Linked DNA regions of Homo sapiens: regions 2, 3, 4, 5, 6 and 7 are each linked to region 1. The links are contacts of gene promoters, found by promoter capture Hi-C in human tissues and cell types (Jung and others, 2019). All regions are on one chromosome and are shown on one strand. The core of a region is centred on a gene start or on the middle of the fragment in contact, and the rest is flanking DNA. Distances in the headings are between cores, read along the strand shown.

The links. Contacts are between HindIII fragments. The study calls those that stand out against the background at their distance.
Region 2: a contact is called between the fragment with the promoter of FAM227A here and the fragment with the promoter of APOBEC3H in region 1, in 1 of the 25 tissues and cell types used here (mesenchymal stem cells).
Region 3: the fragment with the promoter of ATF4 here is called in contact with the fragment with the promoter of APOBEC3H in region 1 in 2 of the 25 tissues and cell types used here (heart right ventricle and mesendoderm cells).
Region 4: a contact is called between a fragment that was not itself captured here and the fragment with the promoter of APOBEC3H in region 1, in 2 of the 25 tissues and cell types used here (heart left ventricle and heart right ventricle).
Region 5: a fragment that was not itself captured here is called in contact with the fragment with the promoter of APOBEC3H in region 1 in 1 of the 25 tissues and cell types used here (bladder).
Region 6: the fragment with the promoter of DNAL4 here is called in contact with the fragment with the promoter of APOBEC3H in region 1 in 12 of the 25 tissues and cell types used here (IMR-90 fibroblasts, adrenal gland, bladder and 9 more).
Region 7: a fragment that was not itself captured here is called in contact with the fragment with the promoter of APOBEC3H in region 1 in 5 of the 25 tissues and cell types used here (IMR-90 fibroblasts, adrenal gland, pancreas and 2 more).

What each region holds. Positions count from the first base shown.
Region 1 is chr22:39,095,438-39,099,154 of GRCh38, reverse strand. It overlaps APOBEC3H (apolipoprotein B mRNA editing enzyme catalytic subunit 3H), which reads right to left and starts at 1,911. Exons shown (of 5, transcript NM_181773.5): 1 at 1,812-1,911. RefSeq lists enhancers at 493-1,379, 1,710-2,049, 1,380-2,267, 1,590-2,789. The HindIII fragment of the contact is 18,686 bases long and covers 1-3,717 here.
Region 2 is chr22:38,654,313-38,658,029 of GRCh38, reverse strand. It overlaps FAM227A (family with sequence similarity 227 member A), which reads left to right and starts at 1,638. Exons shown (of 17, transcript NM_001013647.2): 1 at 1,638-1,910. It overlaps CBY1 (chibby 1, beta catenin antagonist), which reads right to left and starts at 1,392. Exons shown (of 5, transcript NM_015373.4): 1 at 1,280-1,392. The HindIII fragment of the contact is 5,432 bases long and covers 705-3,717 here.
Region 3 is chr22:39,518,812-39,522,528 of GRCh38, reverse strand. It overlaps ATF4 (activating transcription factor 4), which reads right to left and starts at 1,967. Exons shown (of 3, transcript NM_182810.3): 1 at 1,778-1,967; 2 at 858-1,175; 3 at 1-756. The coding sequence starts at 1,083. RefSeq lists enhancers at 1,490-1,539, 1,900-2,049 and a silencer at 2,430-2,629. The HindIII fragment of the contact is 4,198 bases long and covers 586-3,717 here.
Region 4 is chr22:38,720,006-38,723,722 of GRCh38, reverse strand. GTPBP1 (GTP binding protein 1) reads right to left here. Exons shown (of 12, transcript NM_004286.5): 5 at 1,858-1,981. It also overlaps the pseudogene PRDX3P1. Among named protein-coding and RNA genes, the nearest start is that of GTPBP1, 16 kb to the right of the region's middle. The HindIII fragment of the contact is 3,539 bases long and covers 120-3,658 here.
Region 5 is chr22:38,745,963-38,749,679 of GRCh38, reverse strand. SUN2 (Sad1 and UNC84 domain containing 2) reads left to right here. Exons shown (of 18, transcript NM_015374.3): 7 at 897-967. Among named protein-coding and RNA genes, the nearest start is that of SUN2, 8.2 kb to the left of the region's middle. The HindIII fragment of the contact is 3,105 bases long and covers 1-2,802 here.
Region 6 is chr22:38,792,062-38,795,778 of GRCh38, reverse strand. DNAL4 (dynein axonemal light chain 4) reads left to right here and starts at 1,636. Exons shown (of 4, transcript NM_005740.3): 1 at 1,636-1,711. RefSeq lists a silencer at 1,445-1,894. The HindIII fragment of the contact is 13,707 bases long and covers 1-3,717 here.
Region 7 is chr22:38,831,418-38,835,134 of GRCh38, reverse strand. All of the region lies in intron 1 of NPTXR (neuronal pentraxin receptor), which reads left to right. Among named protein-coding and RNA genes, the nearest start is that of NPTXR, 11 kb to the left of the region's middle. The HindIII fragment of the contact is 5,879 bases long and covers 1-3,717 here.

The DNA of each region.
Region 1 (3,717 bases), core at 662-3,161:
GCAAGCTCCACCTACCAGGTTCAAGTGATTCTCCCGGGTTCAAGCAATTCTCCTGCCTCAGCCTCCCAAGTAGCTGGAATTACAAGCGCCCTCCTTCATGCCCGGCTAATTTTTGTATTTTTGTAGAGATGGAGTTTTACCATGTTGGCCAGGCTGGTCTTGAACTCCTTTGACCTCAGGTGATCCACCCACCTCGGCCTCCCAAAGTGCTGGGATTATAGGCGTGAGCCACCGCGCCCCGCCAGGATTGTGACCCATGCGCTCACCTCCTGTCTCCCCGAGGGCCTGAGCTCCTTTTCTTTGGCCTGTCTGATTGATGGTTGCCCATCTACTTTCTATTCTGCTTTCTGGAAAACCCCTGAGCATTTCAAGCCTCCAAGTCCTGAGAATTTCTGCAGCTTTCCCAAGCAGGAAGACCAGGGAGAGGAGAAGAGAAGGAGATGCTGGCAGGGGCAGCAGGGCCGGGGTGACCTCTCCCAGCTCAGGGCCCTAGCTCTGGTCTTTCCAGGGATGGATCTCCCATCCTCCCAGTATTTCTGCCACCCATCCTCTAACCCATTAAAAATAAGAAAAGTGAATAAAATTCTCCCCTTCAAAATAAGAGCTCTTAATATTTCAGTTCAATTAATTCCTGGCATTTTACCTATTCATGTTATTTTATTTTATTTTTTTAGTTTTAGTAGATAAGGGGGTCTCCCTGTGTTGCCCAGGCTGGTTTGGAACTCCTGGCCTTTAGTGATGATCCTCCCCTCTCAGCTTCCCAAAGTGTTGGGATTACAGGCATGAGCCATTTTGCCTGGCCAGGCAGGAAAATGGCGTGAACCCAGGAGGTGGAGCTTGTAGTGAGCCGAGATTGCGCTCCAGCCTGGGCAACAGACTGAGACACCCCTTCTCAAAAAAACAAAACGAAACAAAAAATCAGGGTAGCACTTCCATCCCCAGGCCCAGGCCACTCTTCTAAGTGCTGAGAGGATCTGAGCTCACGTGAGGCTGCCCTAGGCCTGCAGGGGCCATTCTCATCTTACAGAGGAGGGGCCAGAGGTGCAGAGAGGTGGGGTAACCTGCCCAGGCCATGGAGCTGGGCCACTTTCCTGGCCAGCCCTGCCAGCCTCTGCATCACGGGCCCTGCAGGAGGGAGCCTTTGGGAACCAGGCTCTCTTCTTCCTAAATTTTAAAATAAAAGCATTTCTCCTGATCATTGAGTTTTTCCGTATATTCCGTGTTACTGGTGTCATTATAAACGGTGAATGTGAATACTGATCATGGAGGAGGAGTGTGTGTTCAGGGTCATCTGCATCCTCCTCTGCCCACAGTGGAGACATCCTTGGAAGAGATGATTTGCCTTGTGCTTCAGAGATCATTGCCTCCCCACACCCTCTCCTAAGACTTTGTATTGAAACAAAGTAATCTTACACAAAGTTCATCAAAGCACTGTGAACAAAATTCCAGATTGCTCCCATCATCCTTTAGTTCAGTTCTCCCAGTTCCAGAGCCCAGGAATGGCAGGAAGCACACAGAGAGAGCACCCTCCCAAGGTGGGGAGCACTAGCCCAGCCATGACTCTTAGGGGAGAGTCTCAGCAGGGGTCTTGGGCTGGTGCAGGCCGGGGAGGCGGCCCGTTCAGAAGCAGCAGTGGGGTGACCACACAGCAGGGCAAAGAGCCTGGGTGGGAGTGGGGATGGCAGGGGAGCCAGAGGAGAAGGAGCCCAGGGCTGGGGCTGGGGCAGCGGGAGGCCAGGGCTGAGGCACAGAAGGGCTGCCAGGCAGGAAGTGGCAGCAGAGGGCCCAGTGGACAGAGTGGGCGGCAGTACCTGATCTGTGCTTCTGGCCACAGCTTCCTTAGCAGACTTGCCCCTGCTTGTCTGAGGCACTAAGTTTCACTTTTGGCAGCTCTCCCAAAAGTCACAAAAGGTCAGCTCTCCCAAAAGTCACAAAAAGTCACTGCTTGATGAGGGTGGCTCCACCCTCTTCCTTTTGTGGGACTGGAGTGGGAGGGCCCTGGGGTGCTTCAGATCCCTCAGGCTCCTTTCTTTCTCTATTTCCTCGGGCTTGGCAGGGGAAGTCTGATGGAGGTGGCTCACCTCCCATCCTCCCACCCCCAATTCCCTCTCCAGGTACAGCCAGACTCAACTCCCTCCCCAGGTATAGTTTACAAAAGAACAAAGGCCAGATGCGGTGGCTCACACCTGTAATCCGAACACTTTGGGAGGCTGAGGTGGGCAAATTACAAGGTAAGGAGATGAAGACCATCCTGGCCAACATGGTGAAACCCCGTCTCTGCTAAAATACAAAAAATTAGCCAGGTTTGGTGGCCTGCGCCTGTAGTTCCAGCTGCTTGGGAGGCTGAGGCAGGGAAATTGCTTGAACCTTGGAGGCAGAGGTTGCAGTGAGCCGACGTCGCACCACTGCACTCCACCCTGGCAACAGAACGAGACCCTGTCTCAAAAAATAAATAAATAAATAAAAATAAAAAAGAAAGAAAAAAGAAAGGAATTGATGGCTGGTCACGGTGCCTGTTATCCCAGCACTTTGGGAGGCTGAGGCAGGTGGATTGCCTGAAGTCAGGAGTTCAAAATCAACCTGGCCAACCGCACTCCAGCCTGGGCAATAAGAACAAAACTCCGTCTCAAAAACTAAACTAAACTAAAATAAATGAAAGGAATAGAAGCCACAGAAAGGAGCAGGGATCCAGACCAGGGCTGACACCATAGACCAGATGCCACTCCCCTGGTGGACAGGGCAGGCTGCAGCCCCCTCCCCACCACCCCACTGACCTTTGGCATTCAGCCTCCTGGCAGGACCCTGAGCCTGATGTGAAATGAGCACTGGGGTCAGGCTCAGGACTGCATCTCCAGCGGATCCAGTGCCCATTATCTAGCCCAGTCCCCAGATAGCACTGGGAGGGGAGGGCAGTGATCCTGACAGTCAGAGGAGGTCCCAAGCACAGAGAGGCTAAGATACTGTCCCCACGTCACACAGCAAATCAACAGCAGAGCTGGAGTGCTGGCCAGGACTTCCTGTGTCCCTTCTCCCCCACAGCTAGCTACTTTGAGGTTCTTCATTGCTCCATGGAAAGGAGCAGGAGAGGAGACACGAGGGAGGGGACTTACTGCTCCTAAAGGGCCTCCCAGGTCAGAGATGAAGGACCTGGACTTCACATTTGCATTCTGGAACCCATGTCCTCGTCTTCATGCATATCAACCAACACCCTTCAGATCATAAACACCAAAGAGCCAGGCCAGGTGCTGTGGCTCACGCCTGTAATCCCAGCACTTCGGGAGGCTCAGGCAGGCTGATGACCTGAGGTCAGGAGTTCGAGACCAGCCTGGGCAACACGGTGAAACCTCGTCTCTACTAAAAATACAAAAATTAGCCAGGCGTGGTGGCGGGCATCTGTAATCCCAGCTACTCAGGAGTCTGAAGCAGGGGAATCATTCGAACCTGGGAGGCAGAGGTTGCAGCGAGCCGAGATTGTGCCACTGCACTCTAGCCTGGTCGACAAGAACGGGACTCTGTCTAAAAGAAAAGAAAAAGAAAAACCAAAGAACCCCTAGGAAAGTTGAATCCCAAGGGCGAGGACTAGGGGCAGTCACTGCGGAGTCTAGGTTCCACACCAAGGAGTCCCATTGAACCTTGCCCAGCTTGTCCCTCCATATCCTCCCGCCCTGCACACCCTGACAGCCCTCTAGACCCTGCATGGCCCCTGGGGTCACAGGA
Region 2 (3,717 bases), core at 389-2,888, 440 kb after region 1:
TTTATAGGTTAAAAAAAGGTCAAATTGTGACAATTTCATATGGTACAATATAAAATTATATTAAATATACTCGAGATTTAATGAATTATTACAATGAGAATATATTCATGTATTACTTATGAACAAAATAAACAAAACACAGTTAAGAAGCAGCCCCCAGCATGCCTAAAATCTAGAGACATTTGAAGAAGGAGAAATAAGTCAAGTCCCCACTGATGCTAACTGCACTGGGCCTGAGCACATGGGCTGGACACAACAAGTTTAGGGGCCTGGCTCTCCCCTTCAGTTGCCTGCTAGACCTTGGCCCAGCTGCTTTACTTCTCGGGCTTTAACTGGGCACCTTACTCATGACCGCACTAATTCTCATAACACTACAGCTGGGAGCTGTCATCCATGTATTACAGATGAGGAAGGGTCTGGATTAGCTACCTTTTAAGTCAGATCTAATAATCCACAAACAGCTCAGCTGAGATCCTGGGATTCTGGGGCATCCGCGTGCACTTGAGATACAAGCTGTCCCACTGGCCCATGGCAACCTTCTTTCTAGTGAAACTCCCAGGGCGAGCGTGCTCCGCACACAGGAAGTGAAGGGGGAGCACCTGGCTTCCAATGATCACTCTGCGGCTCACCCACAGTGGGACCCCAGCATTTATCCCCCTTGGACTTCGGCTTCTTTCTTTGCACTGAGGAATAATAATAGTACCTGGCTCACAAGATGTTATAGTGTTTTAGTGTTTATAGGAAGCTGTGCACTTGATCCTCACAACGACCCTGGGAAGAGGATCGAGTAAGTAGAGCCTTCCCAGTCCACAGATACTGATACTAATCACTAATCATTGTGTAAAGGTTTTCCGTTTGCAACAGGCCATAAAATATATTATCTTACTTTAATTCTAAGAAAACAAGGGCGGAATCTCTGGTTTTCATCGGATTCTCAAAGATATACGTGTCCCCCAAGGAGTTCAGAGGTAGCCATGTTACGCAGATGCACGGCCCCCAGGGCTGTCGGACTCAAGTAACAGCTGTCAACAAACGTTCACACGCACGATCTCATGCAATCATCTTCACGGCGACCTACGGGGAGGAATTACCGCCCCAATTCACAACCGCGGAGACACACAGAGGAGGGCGGCCACCGCCCGGGGTCGCCCGGCCTCCGTCCCCTTCCCCAGGCCCTCCTGAAGCCTCTCTCCAGGCGAGGCCCGGACGTCCTACTCAGCTCGGGCCCCCGAGTGAACCCAGGCAGCGCTGGCCGGCGACGCCGGACTCGGAGACGTACCTGACGCGTCCCAGAAGCCGGGGTCCAAGCGCTCCCCGAACCCCCAGCAAGGACTCTGTAGCCCAGAGTTACCTTGACCCACCCGCCTCCTGCCGCCTGCCCGCCACGCGCATGCGCTGCCCCGCCCGGCCTCTACCACCGAGGAAAGGGGTAACCGGCGCGGGGGTTCCCAGCGCCAGCCTGCGCCAATCCCCAGAAACTCCGTGAATCACCTCGGGATAGCAAACGGATTATACAAAGGCAGTGTCTTCTGGGGTCCTTTTCATGCCTCTAGGACCAGGACCTGCATTCACCCTCTCCACTGACACATTGGTCTGGGCCCCCGGCCCGGCTGTCACCATAGAAACGGCATCTCGCGGACAACGCGGCGGCTCACGAAGGTTCCATTGTTATGCTAAACGGGAAAGTGGAGACCGCGCCGGCGTTGCCTAGAGAACGCCTGGACTCAGAGTAGCAAAATGGGCCTCTCCCCAACTCCCCTCCTCATCCCCCAGCACAAGGCAAAGGGCACCCCTTGCTGTGAGTTTGGGGGCACCGGCTGTCGGGGGCCGACCCAGAACTTTGCGGGGTCCCCTGAGGGACCCGTGGCGGGACCGGCCCCGGGTTCGTCAAATTCCGCCGATGCTTTCAGGTAAGACGGACGGACAGACGCACCATGACCCACCTCTGGCAGCCTGCCCCCTCCCCGTGCCGTTATGGCGGCTTCTACAAGCAAGGGAAGCTGAGGCCCAGGGACTACTTAAAGGTTGCATTGTGAGGAAGGGACAGAGAACTACTGGAGAATCAACTCCAGATCTCCTAGAGTCCTAAAAGCGTGTGTTATTGGTTCCGTCTGATAAGTGCAGAAACTTAGGCCGTTCAAGGAGTTTACCGGCTGCCTAGTGGGTGTATCAGGGCATCCAGTGAGGGGCAGGACCCAGGGGTCTTTGACTCCAAGCGCAGTTCTCTTCCAACTACACCACCCTGCATTAAAAGAGGGGAGACTTCCATGTCCTAGAACTAAAATCTTCACAATCTGGCTTAGCATTGTGCAATAGAAACATAAAGCAGGCCACATATGTGATTTGGAATTTTCTAGTAGCCACATTTTTTAAAAAGTAAAAAAGAAAGCCAAGTGAAATTAATTTGAGTAATGTTTTAAACTCCATATGTCCAAAACATTACTATTTCAAGATATAATCAGTATTTCTAAATTTGCACTGCTTCCATTTAAAAATTTAATTTTTTTTTTTTTTAAGACAGAGTCTCACTCTGTTGCCCAGGCTGGGATTGCAGTGGCATGATCTCGGCCTCCCGGGTTCAAGCGATTCTGCTGTGTTCACCTCCCAAGTAGCTGGAATTACAGGCACCCACCACCATGCCCGGCTAATTTTTTGTATTTTTAGTAGAGATGGCGTTTCACCATGTTGGCCAGGCTGGTCTCGAACTCCTGACCTCAGGTGATCTGCTTGACTCGGCCTCCCAAAGTGCTGGTATTACAGGTGCGGGCCACTGCGCCTGGCCAAAATTTGAATTAATTAAAATTAAAATTTTACTCTTGGCTGTTCTATCTATGGAGTAGCCATTCTTTTATTGCTTTACTTTAAAAAAATTTTACTTTTTTTTTTTTTCGAGACAGAGTCTCGCTCTGTCGCCCAGGCTGGAGTGCAGTGGCATGATCTTGGCTCACTGCAACCTCCGACTCCTGGGTTCACGCCATTCTCCTGCCTCCGCCTCCCAAGTAGCTGGGACTACAGGCGCCCGCCACCATGCCAGGCTAATTTTTTTTTTGGTATTTATTTATTTATTTATTTATTTATTTTAGATGGAGTCTCGCACTGTCGCCTAGGCTGGAGTGTGCAGTGGTACAATCTCAGCTCACTGCAAGCTCCGCCTCCTGGGTTCATGCCATTGTCCTGCCTCAGCCTCTCGAATAGCTGGGATTACAGGCGCCCGCCACCAAGCCCAGCTAATTTTTTTTTTTTTTTTTTTTTTTGGTATTTTTAGTAGAGATGGGGTTTCACCATGTTAGCCAGGGTGGTCTCGATCTCCTGACCTCATGATCCGCCTGCCTCGGCCTCCCAAAGTGCTGGGATTACAGGCGTGAGCCACCGCGCCCAGCCTTTTGTTTATTTTTTTGAGACAGGGTCTCATTCTGTCACCCAGGCTGGAGTGCAGTGACATCATCCCCACCTCCCAAAGTATTGGGATTACAGGTATGAGCCACTGCATTCAGCCTTAAAATTTTACTTATTCAGTCACATTAACCAAATTCCAAGGACTTAATTGTCACATGTAGCTAGTGCTATTTTGATGGCCAGCACAGTCTGGGCACTTCCTACCTTTCCAGCCTCACTTCCCGCTGCTTGGATGGTACATTTTGGATGGCATATTATTTCCGCTCCCCATTTTTTCTTTTTTTTTGAGACCGAGTTTTGCTCTTGTTGCCCAGGCTGGAG
Region 3 (3,717 bases), core at 718-3,217, 420 kb before region 1:
CCAGGGAATCCGCCCTCTCTTTTAGAGCCTCGTTCTTCTTTTCCAGCTCTTTGCACTCACCAGTAAGAGCCTCCTGCTCCGCCCTCTTCTTCTGGCGGTACCTAGTGGCTGCTGTCTTGTTTTGCTCCATTTTTTTCAGCTTCTTATCCAGTTTCTCACCCTTTACTTTTGCTGCTACCATCTTCTCTCCAGGAGGATCGTAAGGTTTGGGACGGGCAGACCCACAGAGAACACCTGGAGATGGGAGGCTCCTATTTGGAGAGCCCCTGGTAGAGGGGCTGTGCTGAGGAGACCCCAGATAGGACTCTGGGCTCATACAGATGCCACTATCATTATCTGAAGGGGTGTCTTCCTCCTTTATGCACTGAGGGATCATGGCAACGTAAGCAGTGTAGTCTGGCTTCCTATCTCCTTCAGTGATATCCACTTCACTGCCCAGCTCTAAACTAAAGGAATGATCTGGAGTGGAGGACAGGACCCCTGGGGAAAGGGGAAGAGGTTGTAAGAAGGTGAAGGGGGCAACCTGGTCGGGTTTTGTTAAACTTTCTGGGAGATGGCCAATTGGGTTCACCGTCTGGGGGGGCTGCTTATTAGTCTCCTGGACTAGGGGGGCAAAGAGATCACAAGTGTCATCCAACGTGGTCAGAAGGTCATCTGGCATGGTTTCCAGGTCATCTATACCCAACAGGGCATCCAAGTCGAACTCCTTCAAATCCATTTTCTCCAACATCCAATCTGTCCCGGAGAAGGCATCCTCTGCAAAACATTTGAGTGATGGGGCCAAGTGAGTCAGATACAAAGGTAGGAGGCCCCTAACCCTAGATCCCACCAGGACGATGTGGTGGTGGCCCACTCACCCTTGCTGTTGTTGGAGGGACTGACCAACCCATCCACAGCCAGCCATTCGGAGGAGCCCGCCTTAGCCTTGTCGCTGGAGAACCCATGAGGTTTGAAGTGCTTGGCCACCTCCAGGTAATCATCTAAGAGACCTAGGCTTTCTTCAGCCCCCAAACCCGACTGGTCGAAGGGGGACATCAAGTCCCCCACCAACACCTCGCTGCTCAGGAAGCTCATTTCGGTCATGTTGCGGTGCTTTGCTGGAATCGAGGAATGTGCTTAATTCGAAGGTGTCTTTGTCGGTTACAGCAACGCTGCTGCTGAATGCCGTGAGAAGCCTGAATGAGAATCAGAAGCCAACTCCCATTAGAGGTTAGCTGTTCTGAGAATTTCATCCTTCCACTTATGAGGCGGGACTTCTCTAGATCGGCCATCTAGAGAATCGGGAACAGGGCAGTTGTATTTGCCCCTCCCTGCTTGCAACTCAGGTTCCACAAAATGGACGCTCACGGAGACCAGGGGATTCTTCCACCGGCCGCCAAGAGGAAAGCGCTCCGTCCCCACGTCCAAATACGGCCAGGGCGGCCGCGCCCCGCCCACCGCCCGCCCTTGACTCACGCCCGCGCCGCCGCCCTGCCGCCGCCATCTTGGTTCCTGCCACGTTTCGTGGGGCAACAGCCAAGACCCCTGGGACCCTTGCGGGGCTCGGGGTCCGAGGGCTGTAGGGCTCCTGGGGAAGCAGTCCGGGCACCCGACTACGCTTTCCCGATCCCAGGCACGCGAGCGTCTCGGGGACACCCAAGCAAAGACCACGCGTCCCGGGCGCTCGTTAAATCGCTTCCCCCTTGGCGGCACCGCCCTGGCCCCAGGCCGCACCCCACCAATCCAAAACCCGCGCCGGCCCCAGGAGCACAGCTGGACGACCCGCCCCGGTACTCACGCCATGGCTTAAGCCGCTGGGGGTTGCCGCTGCAGAGCCTGGTGCTGCTGCCGCCGCTGCAAAGGCCAATGCTGCCGCAGGCACTGCTGCCCCTAATACGCCATGGTGGCCGTGGACCCTGAGGGCGGGGAGGAGGGAAAACGCACACGCGCAGAGAAAACTACATCTGTGGGCGGGCAAAGTAGAAATGGCTGCCGTGGCCGCCCGCCGGCCCTTTATAGACTTCGTCTCTATGGGGACGCAGCACAGACGCATCCTTCCGCCGCGACCACGTGACCGTCTCCTCCCGCCCGCTCCCTTCCCTCCCTCCCTTTGACGCCCCAACCGTTTATGCCCAGGGCGTAGCTGTGACGAGAAAAGGAGTTTGTTCTTATGGCCTCACGAAAGGAGAGAGGTGTACTACTTTACTAGGCTTCTATGATCAGAGTCCGTTCTTTCCTTCGCCGCCGGAGCGCGGAGTGATCTCCCAGACACGCCTCGCTTCCGGTGTCAGCGCAGTGGGCGGGGAAAGGTCGTTTTCCGGCGAAGAGTTTTTATTGTGAAGGCCGAGGACGCCAGGTTATCGCGCGAGGTGCTGGCGAAGAGCGCGCGTCAAGGTGATTGGCCCAGGCCCGGTGAATCATATATATCTCGAGCTCTTATTGGCTCAGGGCCCTAGATGGGCGGCTGCTGGGAGAGGGATCCCGGGGTCCGCGTGGGAAGGGTTGGGGTCTCGGGTCGCTGCTAGTCCTCAGCCAGCCCCGCCTGCTGGCCCGCCACGATCGCGCTGGCTCCTGCCCCCAGGCGGCCTTAGCCCAGCGCACCCCTTAGTGGCCTCAGGGACCAGCCCTTGCGGTCGGATCCCGCCGCCCTCAGTGGAGGTCCGCACTGGTGGCCCCGCCGCCGCTCCCAGCCTGCGCGTCCTTCGGTTGCGGGTGGTGATTTGTGGCCTGCGGAAACCGGGGGGTTACCTGTTCCAAGCCTGAGTTTTCCAGAGGCCCCATTCATAGCCGACACGGCGCTGCTGCCCCCGGGAGGTTGAAGGGGCCTCGAGAGGGCGCGCCGGGCCTGTCCACCTACCCCCAAAGGCCGGCTGAGTCTGCATGGCTCCTCCTAAACTCTGGAAAGGAGCCGGGAAGACGCGCCGTCCTGTCGCCCAACCTGGGTTTTTACAATTTTCATCCGGCTCAAGTGCAAGGCTGCCACAGAATAGCATCATAGAGGAACTTCTGGTGTCCGAAGATTGCGTTCTCCTAAGAACAAGATTTTCTTCGCTGCCGTCTCCCTGGGGTAGTTCGGATTCACTCCGGATTCTGAACTCCCCGGCCTAACCCGCTTTTCAGCAGTCACGCCCATGGCCCAGGGAGGAGAGGCGCTTGGGAACCCACGGCCACTTACTGGGGGTTGTGCGTTGGGAAGGGGTAGTCTGTTTTAAGAATACAAGAAACCTCCCCATCATCCTTCAGCCCCTTCCAGTCAGGCCCTGTGAAGGTGGAAACTTTGAGTTTCCGCCTCCATTTCACTGGGCCACACAAGTATGAGCGCTGTGATATCAAACAACCAGGGAAGCACTGCTCTAAATAACCACAGGCCATCTGCTGCGCTCATTCAACCTCGCCCACAAATCCTTTCCAATGGTAAACCGAGGCCCAATGGGATGAAGCTTCTTGCTCAAAGTCACAAGGCTCCCAGTGGAGGGAGTATGGGGTAGGAGTTAGAAGACAGATTTTGGGGAGCGCATCCAAAAGAATCCTGGCTGGGACATTTTGGCTAAATGACTTATACTCTCTGAGCCTCAGTTTCCTCATTTGTAAAATGAGACTACTGATGAGTATCCTTGCCTCATGAAGTGAGATCATACATGTAAAGCACTTAGCACAGTGCCTGCCTGGTACATGTAAGCGCCCAATAATGGTTGCTGTTGCTGCCACTGTTCATAGAACTCAGGTCTCCTGACCCTG
Region 4 (3,717 bases), core at 640-3,139, 380 kb after region 1:
ACTCCTTCTGCCTGGGGTCACCTGAAAAGAGGTGCCAGATTCAGGATCTCAAGATTTCTGCATTTGGAACCAGAAGGAACAAGGAAGAGGATAATTCTAGGCTGTGTTCAGACCAAGAACTAAATAGGGGAGGAAGTAGCAGAAGATTCTGGGCTGATGGAAATTCAGGCCAAGACCTAAGTACAAGACAAAGGAAGTTTCGCCCGCGTGCACTGAAGATGGTAGCTGCTGTGGGAAGGCTACTCTGAGCATCGGCTGCCCGACATGTGAGTGCCATTCCTTGGGGCATTTCTGCCACTGCAGCCCTCAAGCTTGCTGCTTCTGGAAGAACGAGCTTGACAAACATATTATGGTCTGGTTCCAGTCAAGCAAAATTCTTTAGCACCAGCTCCTCATACCATGCACCTGCTGTCGCCCAGCATGCACCCTATTTTAAGGGTACAGCCATTGTCAATGGAGAGTTCAAAGACCTAAGCCTTGATGACTTTAAGGGGAAATAATTTGGTGCTTTTCTTCTATCCTTTGGATTTCACCTTCGTGGTCCTACAGAAACTGTTGCTTTTAGTGACAAAGCTAAGGAATTTCATGATGTGAACTGTGAAGTTGTGGTCTCAGTGGATTCCCACTTTAGTCATCTTGCCTGGATAAATACACCAAGAAATAATGGTGGTTTGGACCACATGAACATCCCACTCTTGTCAGATTTGAGCAAACTTCCTGAGACTACGGTGTGCTGTTAGAAGGTTCTGGTCTTGCACTAAGAGGTCTCTTCATAACTGACCCCAATGGAGTCATCAAGCACTTGAGCGTCAATGACCTCCCAGTGGGCCGAAGCGTGGAAGAAACCCTCCACTTGGTGAAGGCGTTCCAGTATGTAGAAACCCATGGAGAAGTCTGCCCAGCAAACTGGACACTGGATTCTCCTACAATCAAGCCAAATCCAGCTGCTTCCAAAGAGTACTTTCAGAAGGTAAATCAGTAGATCACCCATGTGTATCTGCACCTTCTCACCCCAGAGAAGAAACACAGTTGAAGCCTGCTTTTATCATTTTATAGATGATTATCTGTAGAAGGCAAGGAACCAATTATGCTTGTACTCATAAATATTACTCTAAATGGCTAAGGCCTTTTAAACATGGTTAGTTGCTAGTATAAGGAATCCTTTATTGGTAACATCTTGGTGGCTAGCTAGTTTCTACAGAATATAATTCGCCTCTGTAGAAGGCAATTCTTAGATCACATCTTCAGTAGAAACACTCTTCTGTCTTAGCCTTACTTGAAGCTTGCCTACAACAAAGTGGAGCAACACACATTGAAAGCTTCTGATCAAGGGTCCTGAAATTTTCATCTTGAATGTCTTTGTATTAAGCTGAATTTTCTTTTAAGCTAACAAAGATCACAGCTTTCAATTGTTATCAGCAGTCAAATTTAACTCCTGCAATGAATGTTTATGTGATTGAAGCAAATGTGAATATTATTTTAAAAAGTGGCAGAGTGACTTAACTGATCATGCATGATCCCTCATGCTTGAAATTTATAGTTTACCTAGTCATTTTACTTATTTTATTCATTAGCTAACTTTGTCTACATATATTTCTAGATACTGACCAGTGTAACGGATTATAAAGGATAGTTATTGGATCCAGGGATTGCATTTTGAAATTATTATAATTATTTTCTTTGCTGAAGTGTTCAATGTAGAGCACATAATAAAAATAAACATATTGTAAAATAAAAAAATAAAAATAAAAAAGAAAAGAAGTTTCTGGGCTAAAGCCGTGGTAGCAGACCACCTGAAGGCACAGCAGGTGACAGCCCCAATCAGAGGGGCTGCTGCTAGCTGGAGGCTTCACTTACCTTGCAGGATGTTGGCAGGACACATGTCAATCTTGGTGACTACCACAAAGACAGGTACATTGAGTGCCAGTGCCAAGCCCAGGTGTTCTTTGGTCATCCCCACGATGCCAGCATTGCTGCCCACCTGCCCCAACACAGAAAGGAAGTGTCAGGACGAGAGAGAAAGAGATTGCTGCTGGGTGGACACAGGGGCTCAAAAGCAGATGTGGATGAAAGCTGGGCTGGGCAAAAATCACGTTAACCCCTGACTCGATGATGTGGGGCGTCAAAATCGGAGGAGACTTGCAAACAATAAAAAAGATAAACCCAGTCAGGGAAACAACTGTCCTGAGCCATCAAAATGAATCCAAGTCAGGAGCAGTGGCTCATGCCTGTAACCCCAGCACTTTGGGAGGCCAAGGAAGGCAGATCACTTGAGGCCAGGAGTTTGAGACCAGGCAGGACAACCTGGTAAGACCTCCGTCTCTACAAAAAAATACAAAAATTAAGGCTGGGCACGGTGGCTCACTCCTGTAACCCCAGCACTTTGCGAGGTCAAGGCAGGCGGATCACCTGAGGTCGGGAGTTCGCGACCAGCCTGAACAACATGGAGAAACCCTGTCTCTACTAAAATACAAAATTAGCCAGGCGTGGTGGCACATGCCTGTAATCCCAGCTACTCAGGAGGCTGAGGCAGGAAAATCGCTTGAATCTGGGAGGTGGAGGTTGTGGTGAGCCGAGATCGTGCCATTGCACTCCAGCCTGGGCAACAAGAGCGAAACTCTGTTTCCCCCACCCTACAAAAAAAAGAAAAATTGACTGGGTGTGGCAGGATACGCTGTAGTCTCAGCTACTTGGGAGGCTGAGGTGGGAGGATCACTTGAGCCTGGGAGGTTGTGGCTGCAGTGAGCCATGATCGAGCTACTGCACTCTAGCCTGGGTGACAGAGCGAGACTGTGTCTCATAAACAACAACAACAAAAAGTGGATTCAACTTAACATCACTGGCCCTCAGTTTCCCCATCTGTAAAATGGGGAGATAACAATATCCACTTCAGAGGGTCACTTGATGTTTAAATGTCACAACACACATGAAGTGTCCAGCACACAACTAGCAGGAACTAGGTGTTTAAGCAATTGCACCTGTTATTACTATTACTATCCTTCCAGTAACAATAAATGTTTCCAAATATCACCGTAAGGACTGGTTACATAAATCAGGGCACGTGTATGAAATGTGCTGTACAAAAGAAGAAATTTTTATCTACTGATATGGACTAATCTCCAAAATATGCTTTTAAGGGGAAAAAAAAAGTAAGTTGCATATAGAATGCTATCATAAAAAGAGGTGAGTGTTCAGCTATGCATGGTGGCTCATGCCCATAATCCCAGCACTTTGGGAGGCCAAGGTGGGTGAATCACCTGAGGTCAGGAATTCGAGACCAGCTTGGCCAACATGGTGAAAACCCCTTCTCTACTAAAAATACAAAAAAAAAAAAAATTAGCTGCATGTGGTGGCAGTTGCCTGTAATCCCAGCTACTCAGGAGGCTGAGGCAGGAGAATCGCTTGAACCAAGGAGGCGGAGGTTGCAGTGAGCCAAGATTGCGCCATTGCACTCCAGCCTGGGCAAGAGTGAGACTCCATCTCAAAGAAAATAAAGGCCAGGCGCGGTGGCTCACACCTGTAATCCCAGCACTTTGGGAGGCCGAGGCGGGCAGATCATGAGGTCAGGAGCTCGAGACCATCCTGGCTAACATGGTGAAACCCTGTCTCTACTAAAAATACAAAAAATTAGCTGGGCATCGTGGCGGGCGCCTGTAGTCCCAGCTACTTGGGAGGCTGAGGCAGAAGAATGGCATGAACCCGGGAGGCAGAGCTTGC
Region 5 (3,717 bases), core at 1-2,500, 350 kb after region 1:
CTCTGAGGGTTTTCCCCAGTTTCCCTGGAGCCTTTATTAGCGATCACGGAGTAGCTTCCCCAAAGCCCACCCCTGCCTGACAGAGGATGGACTCAGAGTCAGGTTCTTCTCCCCGAATTGATAGCCCTTCGAGGCAGGATTCCAGAGCACAGATTATTTCTTCTTGGACACATTCTACTAAACGCCACACTAGTCTAGCCGTGCCTGGCTCTCAGACACACGATGGCTTTCCTCCTGCAGGGTAGGCCCACTGACTCCAGGCAAGAAGTGGGGTTTCCCAGAAAGTCCATCTTCCTTCTTGGGCCTGGGACAATCTAACCCCCCGAGTTCCCCACTCATGGTCAGAGCCACAAAGAGGCTCTGCCTGAGGATGCTATGGGTTCATTCCCCAAGTCCCTAAACCAGCAGAACCAGGATTTGAGAATGTGCCCCTTAGGCAGAAGAACACGGAACCCAGAAGTCAGGATCCCTCTGGCCGTAATCCAGGTCCGGGCAGAGGGGACAGCTGGCCATACTGAAACAAGGGGCAAGGATGGGTTTGTGTCACCAAAAACAGGTTCCTTGTTGTTATTTAAGGAGTTACTTTTTTTTTCTATATTTGCATACTTAGAGGACCTGTCCATATAAAAATTTTTGAGTTTTTCAAAGACCACACTATTTTTAATAACATCAGTAAAATTCAGTCAAAATTGTCCCATCACTCTAAGACCTGCCCAGCAGGAAAGGCTCTGACGTGTCCAGGCTGGCCCTGGCACAGTGAGAAGCTCAAGCTATCCTCCTTAGCTCTAGTTCAGCACCCAGGAAAACATCTCAGGGTACTCCCTGGGTGGAACGTGGAGGCCTGGAGCTCCCCTCACACCTCCGCCTCCCCCGTCCTGCCCTCCCGCGTGGTCCAGGCGCTTCTCGTCCCTGAAGACGTTCCTCTGGTTCCTGCTGCCGCTGCTCTTGCTGACGTGCCTGACGTATGGTGAGCCTGCATGGGGAGAGCAGAGGGAGGCACAGAGATGTGTTCACCAGAGGGTGGTGACCTTTGGCAGGCAGGGAAGGGGCAAGACTGGGTGGGGTGTGCCTGTGACTGGGCAGGGCCTGAGCCCTGGACCCTGGATCATCTCTGCATGGCCCTCCCCACCTCTCCTGAGCCTCTTTTGTGCCGCCCTGGGCAGGAGCACACCCTAGTGCCGCAACATTGGGTGAAAAGCGGGATGCCCTCCCATTATCATTAGCAGTCATCCTCCTTCCACTCCAACAGGGACATCTGCTATGAGGGAGTTATTTTTACAAGATGAAGTTAAATCTTGAGCTGTCTTTAAAGTAAAAACAATGAAGCAGCAAAGGGAAATAAGTGCCTTTTTTGTTTGTTTTTTGAGACAGAGTTTTTGCTCTTGTTGCCCAGGCTGGAGTGCAATGGCGCGATGTCAGCTCACCACAACCTCCACCTCTCAGGTTCAAGTGATTCTCCTGCCTCAGCCTCCCGAGTAGCTGGGATTACAGGCATGCGCCAACATGCCCAGCTAATTTTGTATTTTTACTAGAGATGGGGTTTCTCCATGTTGTCAGGCTGGTCTCGAACTCCTGACCTCAGGTGATCCAGCTGCCTCGGCCTCCCAAAGTGCTGGGATTACAGGCATGAGCCACCGTGCCCGGCCATAAGTGCCTCTTTTTACACCAGTCACTTACCAGCTGTCCTGAATCATCCCAGGCGCTAGCACAGGCCTGCCTTGGTTTTTTGTTTGTTTTGAGACAAAGTCTTCTTCTGTCACCCCAGCTGAAGTGCAGTGGCACGAACACAGCTCACTGCAGCCTTGACCTTCTGAGCTCAGGTGATCCTCCCACGTCAGCCTCCCAAGTAGCTGGGATTACAGGCATGCAGCACCACACATGGCTAATTTTTGTATTTTTAGTAGAGACGGGGTTTCACCATGTTGGCCAGGCTGGTCTCAAACTCCTGACCTCAAGTGATCCACCCACCTCGGCCTCCCAAAGTGTCGGGATTACAGGTGTGAGCCACTGCACCCAGCCCTTCCTTGTTTATATAGACATTTTGTGTTCAGCTTTTTACTTGACAGCTTGGCTAGTTTCATATGAATTGCCTATGTGACTCTCAGCTCAATTTTAATGACTGCACCAAGTAATTAAAGACCATGCTTTATTATTTTTTGAGAGTTTGTTTTATAAGCTTAATATCATTCAACTTGTATTTCTTTTATTAATAACAGGGTAGAACACTTTTCCAAAAGTTAGCTTCGTTTTTGTGTTTGCTGCTACAAGAACAGCTGGTTCATATCCAGTGGCAACTGAGCACCACCCTTAAAATAATAATGATTCTTCTTCTTTTTTTTTTTTTTTTTGAGACGGAGTTTTGCTCTGTTGCCCAGGCTCGAGTGCTGTGGCACAATCTTGGCTCACTGCAACCTCCACCTCCCGGGTTCAAGCGATTCTCCTGCCTCAGCCTCCCGAGTAGCTGGGATTACAGGTGCATGCCACCACGCCCAGCTAATTTTTATATTTTTAGTAGAGACGGGGTTTCGCCATGTTGGCCAGTCTGGTCTCAAACTCCTGACCTCAAGTGATCCACCTGCCTCGGCCTCCCGAAGTGCTGGCATTACAGGTGTGAGCCACCACGCCCAGTCAGTGATTCTTTTTTGTGTGTGTGTGATGGAGTCTGTCGCCCAGGCTGGAGTGCAGTCGTGCGATCTTGACTCACTGCAAGCTCCACCTCCCAGGTTCACGCCATTCTCCTGCCTCAGCCTCCCGAGTAGCTGGGACTACAGGCGGCCGCCACCACGCCTGGCTAATTTCTTTTTGTATTTTTAGTAGAGATGGGGTGTCACCATATTAGCCAGGATGGTCTCGATCTCCTGACCTCGTGATCCACCCGCCTCGGCCTCCCAAAGTGCTGGGATTACAGGCGTGAGCCACCGCGCCCGGCCCAGTCAGTGATTCTTTATAATTGCATAGCAATGTACCCAGAGAGCACTTTCCCGTGCATTATCTCAGTTCAATTTGAGCTTCACCATGGCCTTGTGGGGTTGCTGTAGTCAGTGCTGTGAACCCATCACATGGAGATGCACGTGGAGGGGGCTCAGTGACCTGCTCGGGGAGTGTGTGCATGAAGGCCATGTCCATGCTGGACTTCAAGCCCCATGGGCATGAGCTTCCTTTTGCACCTGCCAACCTCTGGTGCTTGAGTAGCGAATGGAGCTTTATCAGGACAGAAAGCCCTCCCTCCCCCGCTCCCCTGCCACCTGCCCCAGAGCTCAGGAGTAAACAGGTATCAAACAGATGGCCCTGAAAACAGAATGAACATGTCTCTGTGTGGCTGCAGCTTGGTGCTCGTGTCTGGGCCTCGAGCAGCCTCTCTTAGAGGGGGTGGTGCTTTCTGTTGCAGTGACTCTCAGCCATGGCGGCCCATGACAGTCACCAGGAAGCTTTACAAACTCACCTACGCAGGGGCCCCACCCCAGGCCAATTAGCTTGCTCTCCAGAGGGCAGGGCCAGACCTGGTTGTACTAAAATCTCCCCAGGTGATTCTGACGACCAGACAGGGCTGAGAACCACCATCAGGTCCTCTGGGCTGTACCCTGGATCATCCCTAACTCATTCAAAATGTTTTCTCCAAGTTTTGCCACTTACAGAAAGATGAAGGATTCCCGTGGGGGTGTGAGAATGAATATGCTCTGAGGTTGTTGGGTGGAAGTTGCCACCTCAGAGAATGGG
Region 6 (3,717 bases), core at 387-2,886, 300 kb after region 1:
GGAAATAGTGAGGAGTCGAAATTGGCATGCTTGTGACTGGAAGTGGGCTGTTGTAGTGGGAAGGGTGAAGGACTCCCCCCTGTTTTCTGATGGAGGCAACTGGGTCGGGGGTGGTGCCATTTACTGGAATGGGGAATGCAGGAAGAGCAGATTGGAGGGAGATGATCAATTCAGTTTGGGACACACTGAGTTTGAAGGGCTTGTGGAACATTCTGGTGCACATGGCTAGGAGGCAGTTGAATATGCTACCCAAGCATTCAGGGATCAGAGGTTTTAAAGATAATTTTGTGGGTAGGGGCTTGGCAAGCGAGGAGTGTTGATTGATTAAGTCGAAGATGGAATACTGAGGGGGTCGAAGTGAGGTTTTCTTGCTGTCTTCTGTTCCTGGGTGGGATCACAGAACTGTTTGAGCCACATTACTGGTCTGGGTGGTGTCAGCTGATCCATCGAGCGCAGGGTCTGCAAAATATCTCAAGCGCTGATCTTAGGTTTTACAATAGTGATGTTATCCCCAGGAGCAATTTGGGAAGGTTCAGACTCTTGCAGCCAGAGGCTGCTGTGTGACCCCTAAACCATAATTTCTAATGTTGTAGCTAATTTGTTAGTCCTACAAAGGCAGACTGGTCCCAAGGCAGGAAGGGAGCCTTTTTGGGAAAGGGCTATTGTCAATTTTGTTTCAGAGTAAAACTATAAACTAAATTCCTTCCCAAGGTTCGTTCAGCCTATGCCTAGGAATGAACAAAGACAGCTTAAAGGCTAGAAAGGCAAGATGGAGTGGGTTAGGTCTGATCTCTTTCACTGTCATAATTTCCTCAGTTATAATTTTGGCAAAGACAGCTTCAATGCTAGTAAATGTGGCAGTGGGGTTTCACCCCAAGTACTCATCACAATAATAAAGGTTTAAACTACGAAGTACCCAACTGACCCTTTGATCTACCAATCAAATAATAGAATCCGCCAGTTCTTCCCCTTTCCCCTTTTCCTTCTCCGTACTTTCGGATTAATTTTCCCTCCCAAGGGGAAGAAAAGGCAGGCTCTGGGCAACTGTGTCTGAAATTAGGTGGTACAAATGTCTCCTAGTGACTAGAGCTAGGTGACCATACAAGGGTGTGGCACAGAGGAAGGAGCCCCTGGGTTCCTTCTCCAGGGAGATTACCTCCATCCTTTACCAAGTTACTTAACCTCTCTGAACTTTAGTTCAGATGGGATGACGAATATTATCACCTAAAAGTACTGTAATGAGAATCAAGTGAGATATTAATTGTACAGCCCTACAAAAATGCTAGTTATTATCAGGCTTTTCAGATCCCAATAAAGTAGTGGCTAAGTGTCACGACACCAACAAGTTGCATTTGTTATTTCAAGTGACTAAAAGAACCTCCCAAGGCAGTACTGCTTTTCGAAGTTTGTTTCCCTAGAAAAAGAACTTCAATGTGTCCCCTGCTCCTCGGGCACGCTTAAGACAACTATAAGTGAAGTCCCGCCTCCCTGGCCTCTAAACCACGCCCCTGTCCTTGCAAACGCCTGACTTATAAGGGCCTTTCACTCTGATTGATACTTTTATCCACCAATAATAAGTGAAATTCTCGTCAACGTCCGGTGAGGGGGCAGGACTTCCTTGCTGGTTGCTAAGACACTCTTGTTTCGCTCCTTGACAACCCTGGCGGGGGTTCGCTGGCTGCGGCCCCGGCTCCGGCCCCCGCAGGAGCAGGTGAGGCCCCGGGGCGCGGCGGGCAGCCAGGCGGGGAGGGCCGGCCCGGAGGGAGGGCGGGAGGCAACGCAGGGCGGAAGAGGCCTCGCCCGCCGCCGAGGCCCCACCTCGGTCTCCTGCCTGCTGTTCCCCTGCCCCAGGTCTTCCCATCCTCAACCCCCACCCTCACCCCCACTTCGGGACCTGCGAGCTCTGTCGTGACAGGTTTGCCATCGCGACTCTGCCGGCTGCTCTTCCCCACCCACCCAAGGCCTGCCCAGCTTCGTGGTCCCGCGTCCCCCTTTAGCCGACTTCCCCCAGCACCTTGATCCCTCGACCTTTCGCGGAGTAATTCCCTCTCCCGCGGGGTCGCCATCAACTAGGTCAGACCGCTCTTGGCTTGGAGAGTTGGCGACTTACTGGGATTCTGGGCTGGTCATTTCCCCTGTTTGGGCCTCAGTTTCCCCATCTGTAAATGAGAAGTTGAGTTGAGTGATCTCTAAGGCCTCTTCCACTCTGACGTTCTAGGATGTCGTTGTTCTTTGACCCAACTTTAGGCTTCCGAGAGGATGTGCTCCCCAATGGGAGGTATCGTGTATTGTGAAAATAACTTGGCAAACCTAATTTGGATTCCCAGTCTCAAGACCTACCCTCCCTGCGCTTTTAATCAGTGCATATGTAAAATCAGTATACGTCGGTGCATCTCCTTTGGTAATTCTGAGGCTAATATGAAGTACAGAGTCCAGTCCAGTATAGATTCAGTATTTGTTAGTTTCTTTCCTTTGTCTCTTCACCACATTTTCCCTCTCTGGGAAATGTTATCAACCCGGTCAGCATGAACTGTCATTTCTCCAGTTGACCCTCTCTGATCTTCCTCCTGGGCTTCCATGGTTAGGGTTACTTAGGGGTGGGGAGGGGACAGATGGAGATTGAAATACAGTCATGTACCATATAACAACGTTTTGGTCAAGAAAGACCACAGATACCACGGTGGTGCCCTAAGGTTATAATGGAGCTGACAAATTTCTATCACCTAGTTACATAGCTATCGTAATGTCAAAGCAAAATGCATGACTCACGTGTGTGGTGATGCTGGTGTAAGCAAACCTACAGTGCTGCCAGTCATATAAAATATAGCACATACAATTGTGTACAGGACATCATACTTGATAATGGTAATAAATGACTGTTACTTGTTTATGTGTTTACTATCCTACACTTTTATTGTTATTTTACAGTGTACACTCCTCCTACTTATAAGAAAATAAAATTTAACCGTAAACAGTCTTAGATAGGTCCTTCAGGAGGTATTCAAGCAAAAGGCTTTGTTATCATAGGAGATGACAGCTCCATGCGTGTTATTGCCCTGAAGACCGTCCAGCGGGACAAGATGTGGTAGTGGAAGATAGTGACACTAAGCATCCTGACCCTGTGTAGGCTTAGGCTAGTGTATCTGTGTCTGAGTTTTAACAAAAAAGTTAAAAATGTTAAAAATAAAAAATAAAGGCCAGGAGCGGTGGCTCACGCCTATTAATCCCAGCACTTCGGGAGGCCGACACAGGCAGATCACCTGAGGTCAAGAGTTTGAGACTAGCCTGGCCAACATGGTAAAACCTGTCCCTACTAAAAATACAAAAAATTAGCCAGACGTGGTAGCGGGCACCTGTAATCCCAGCTACTCAGGAGGCTGAGACAGGAGAATGGCGTGAACCCGGGAGGTGGAGGTTTCAGTGCGCCGAGATAGCGCCATTGCGCTCAAGCCTGGGCAACAAGAGTAAAACTTTGTCTCAAAAAAAAAAAAGTAAAAAAGAAATAGAAAATTTATAAGTAGAAAAAAGCTTATAGAATAAAGATATAAAGAAAGAAAATATTTTTGTATAGCTGTACAATGTGTTTGTGTTTTAAGCTAAGTGTTACTACGAAAGAGTCAAAAAGTTAACAAAATCAAAACTTTTACAAAGTAAAAAGTTACAGTAAGCTAAGGTTAACTTATTATGGAAGAAAGAAAAATATTTTCTATAAATTTA
Region 7 (3,717 bases), core at 596-3,095, 260 kb after region 1:
GGCAGCAGGGGTGAGCTCACCCTCTGCACCAGGCCTGTCAAGGGCCTTACAATTGAATCCCACAAGAACTATGGTACTATTACTATCTCTGTTTTACAGATGAGGAAACTGAGGCTCAGAAAGTTTCAGAAGCTTGTCCAGCTCACTCAGCTGGCATTTCCACCCAGGCAGTCTGGCTCCAGGGCCTGCACCATGACACATTATGCTCTCCTGCCTCTCAATAACAGCAAAGAATAATAGTAATGTGACAACCACGTACTGCCTCTTATGGTTGACCACACTTCATATCTGTTCTTTCATTTTATCATTATTTATATCCCCAAATGTAGGTACTATTATTACACCCATTTTACAGATAAGGTAACTGAGGGCCAGAGGAGTTAAGCAGCTTGCCCAAGGTCGCAGATCTAGTAAGCAAGGAACTGAAAATGACGCTGGCCTGTCTAACGTGACAGTTCGTGTCTGCAACTACGACGCCATGTTGCTGCGGCACACATGGATGGATGGATGGATGGATGGATGGATGGATGGATGATGGATGGATGGATGGATGGATGAGTGCTCTGCAGCCCTGCCAGAGAAGCTCTCAGGGCCCTCTTCTCTCTCTATAGAGCATCTCAGTTCAGGCATCAGGGAAGCTGCCATCTGGAGGATGAGCAGGCAATGGGCAGAGGAGGGGTGGGGGCGGGAAGAATGTTCTTGGAGAAGGAACAGCATGTGTGGAGGCCTTAGGGTGAGAAGGAGTTTGGGGCAGTTGAGCAGCAGAGGACTTTCAGTGGGCGTGACCTATGTCCTGTCGGGGTAAGGGCTGAAGCCAGGAGGACAGGGACTTTATTGGCAGGGAGACGGGGCTGTGGAAGGATTTTAAGCAGGAGAGCAACATGGCTGGATTTGCCTCTGGCCGCTGTGTGGAGGGTGGGAGTGGAAGCTGTGGCACAGTCCAGCGGAGAGTAGCCAGGACTAGGGAGAAGGCTAGGAGCTGAGTGAAGCTCTGGGCGAGACGCAGGTTTAGATTCAAGCATTAGAGACACCACTTCATGAAGCTCTGGGTAAGAAGCAGGGTTAGATTCAACCACTAGAGATGCCACTTTAGGATTGTTTTCCTGTTTTTAAAAGAAAATCATGTCAAGTATTTCAGATGGGCAAAAAGGCATAAATACTACTACCCAGGCCCCTGCCCAGGCTCAAGAACCAAACGTTTCCAATCAGCTGATCCCCATCACAAGGTCAGGAGATGGAGACCATCCTGGCTAACACAGTGAAACCCCATCTCTACTAAAAATACAAAAAATTAGCTGGGTGAGGTGGCAGGCGCCTGTAGTCCCAGCTACTCGGGAGGCTGAGGCAGGAGAATGGCGTGAACCCCAGGGGGGCGGAGCCTGCAGTGAGCCGAGATCGTGCCACTGCACTCCAGCCTGGGCAACAGCGAGACTCTGTCTCAAAAAAAAAAGAAACTCCATCGCAAAAAAAAAAAAAAAATTGTTAGTCACGACATTAATAGTAGACACGCCTGTGATGCTTCCTATGCCTACCGCGCACTAAGCGCTTTCTGTCTATGAACTCAGTCAATCCTCACCACGATGCTATGAGATTTACTCTTTTACCCTTTGGGGCCAATGGGGAAACTGAGGCATGGCACCGTTACATAACAAGGCCACTCAGCTGGTGAAGCCCAGGTGTGAGCCCTAGCAGGACTCAGAACTCAGGGGATGGTTGGATGGGGGAGGTGAGGGGCCGTGGTCCACACTGCTCCCCCTGAAGGCTGCTCACTTTCCACCTGGTCCTGGTGCCCCTGCAGTCTGCCCCTGGTGAGGGAGGTGGGGTGGCAGGATGGGGTTTCTCTGAGAAAGCTTTCTGACCCCAAACTCCCACCGTTGCAAAACCTGGTGGTCTGGCCGTCCCAGAACAGCCTCTGCCTCACTGCCAGCTGGGAGTACCACTACCTGGGTGATCCTGGGCAGGGGCAGTGGTGCAGAGGGTGGGACCCTGACCCTCAACAGACCCAGACCAGCAGTGTAGGCCTGAGGAATGAGCACAGTCTGTGGGCTGTGCAGAGGATGGGACTCTGGCCCTGGAGTCCTGCACCTGCCTTCTGCTCCCTGCAGCAAGGGAATAGACCCCGGGTGGGGCTAAGGTGATGGGGTTTCCCTGCATCCTCCCAGCCTCAGCCACCCCACGCTGGCAGGACCCTCCTATCAGTCTCCCTTTGTGAAGCTGCCCTGCGCCATAGTCTCACACAACCTTCTGGATCTTCTAGACTTCCCGTGGCCATTAGTACCTCTCCTGCTTGCCTTCGAGTTAGGCAGGGCAACCAGCACTGTGCCCACTTGGCAGATCAACCAACAGACCCAGACCATCAGTGTGAGCCTGAGGAATGAGCACAGATTTCAGGATCAGGAAGGCCAGGCTGGAGTGCTGGCTCTGCAGCGTCACAGGTATGTGACCTTAGACAGGCACTGAGCCTCAGTTCCCTCATCTCTGAGTGGGCCTCCCTACTTCCCCAGGCTGTTGAGAGCAGCCTAGAACTGTTTGCACAGATCTTCCCTAGTGCGGGGCCTGGCATGCAGCGAGTGCTCGATGGAGACAGCTGCTGCCGTTAGCATTCTGATTGAGTGCTAATGAGCCCAGCACATTATGGCTGAGCCAGGCCTAGAACAAGGGGCTCTGGCTCTAGGCCCAGCACACTTACGCCAAACCCCACCCCGGACTCCCAGCGGGACAGGCCATGGGTTCCCAGCCTCCACCTTTCTGCCCCAGCAGGAGCTGAGTGGGGGTGCTGGCGTCATCATTCCCTCCATCATCTTAGGTGAGGGGCCCAGTTGGCATCGGGCCGGGAGCCCACGCGGCACAGCCTGCGCCCACAGCAGATGGGAAGTGGGGGTGCGGGAGTCGTGTTCTTCTGATTCAGACACTGGGACGGGGAGGGACTCACACACGATCCGGCGAGCCCACCTCCTCCATGGCCTTCCTGGCCGCTGCAGAGCCAGTGGCTCTGACAAAAGAACAGCTTGAGCGCACACCCCCTCAGCCCGCACGTTTTCTCCTCCAAACAGCGTCTGTTTAAATAGCCTCGACTCCCTGTTCTTGCTGGCAGATCTTCCTCCCTCTGTTCTTCCTGGCAAGTCTTCCTCCCTCTCTCCCTTTGCTGGAGAGAGGAGATGCTGGCTCCAGGGGTATCGGTTTGGCCCAGCCCCATTGCTATAGACAATTCAAAACGACTCCTGCCTTGGTTTCCCATCTGTGAAATGGGGATACGAAGAGTGCCAGCCTCAGCGAGCAGCTGCGAGGATTCATGAGTAAACACATGCCAAGTGCCTATGATGGGCCCGGTGCACAGCCTCACTCCCGCATGCCCCTCTGGCCTCAAGCTTGGCACAGAGCGGGTGGAGAACTGAGGACAGAACAGTACCTGGGACCAGGGACACCCTGCCCCAGCCCGCCCTTCCAGCCCTGAGATGAAATGCGCCCCTTGAGCTGATTGCCTCAGTCCAAGGCTTCCTGGAAGTCCAGCCATCTCGAATGCAGTGGGTGGCTGACCCTGTCACCCTGTGGGCCATCCAGTGTCACCTGAAGGCTCTGGAGGTAATGAGCGCCCCATCAGCTAATGTAGTCAAGCCCCACAGTTGGCATTATGCTTTTATAGTCCATGAGGGCCTGTCACTTGTCCTCCCATCCTTCCATCTGTCCTGGGAATGAACAAGAGGAAGTCTGTTTCAC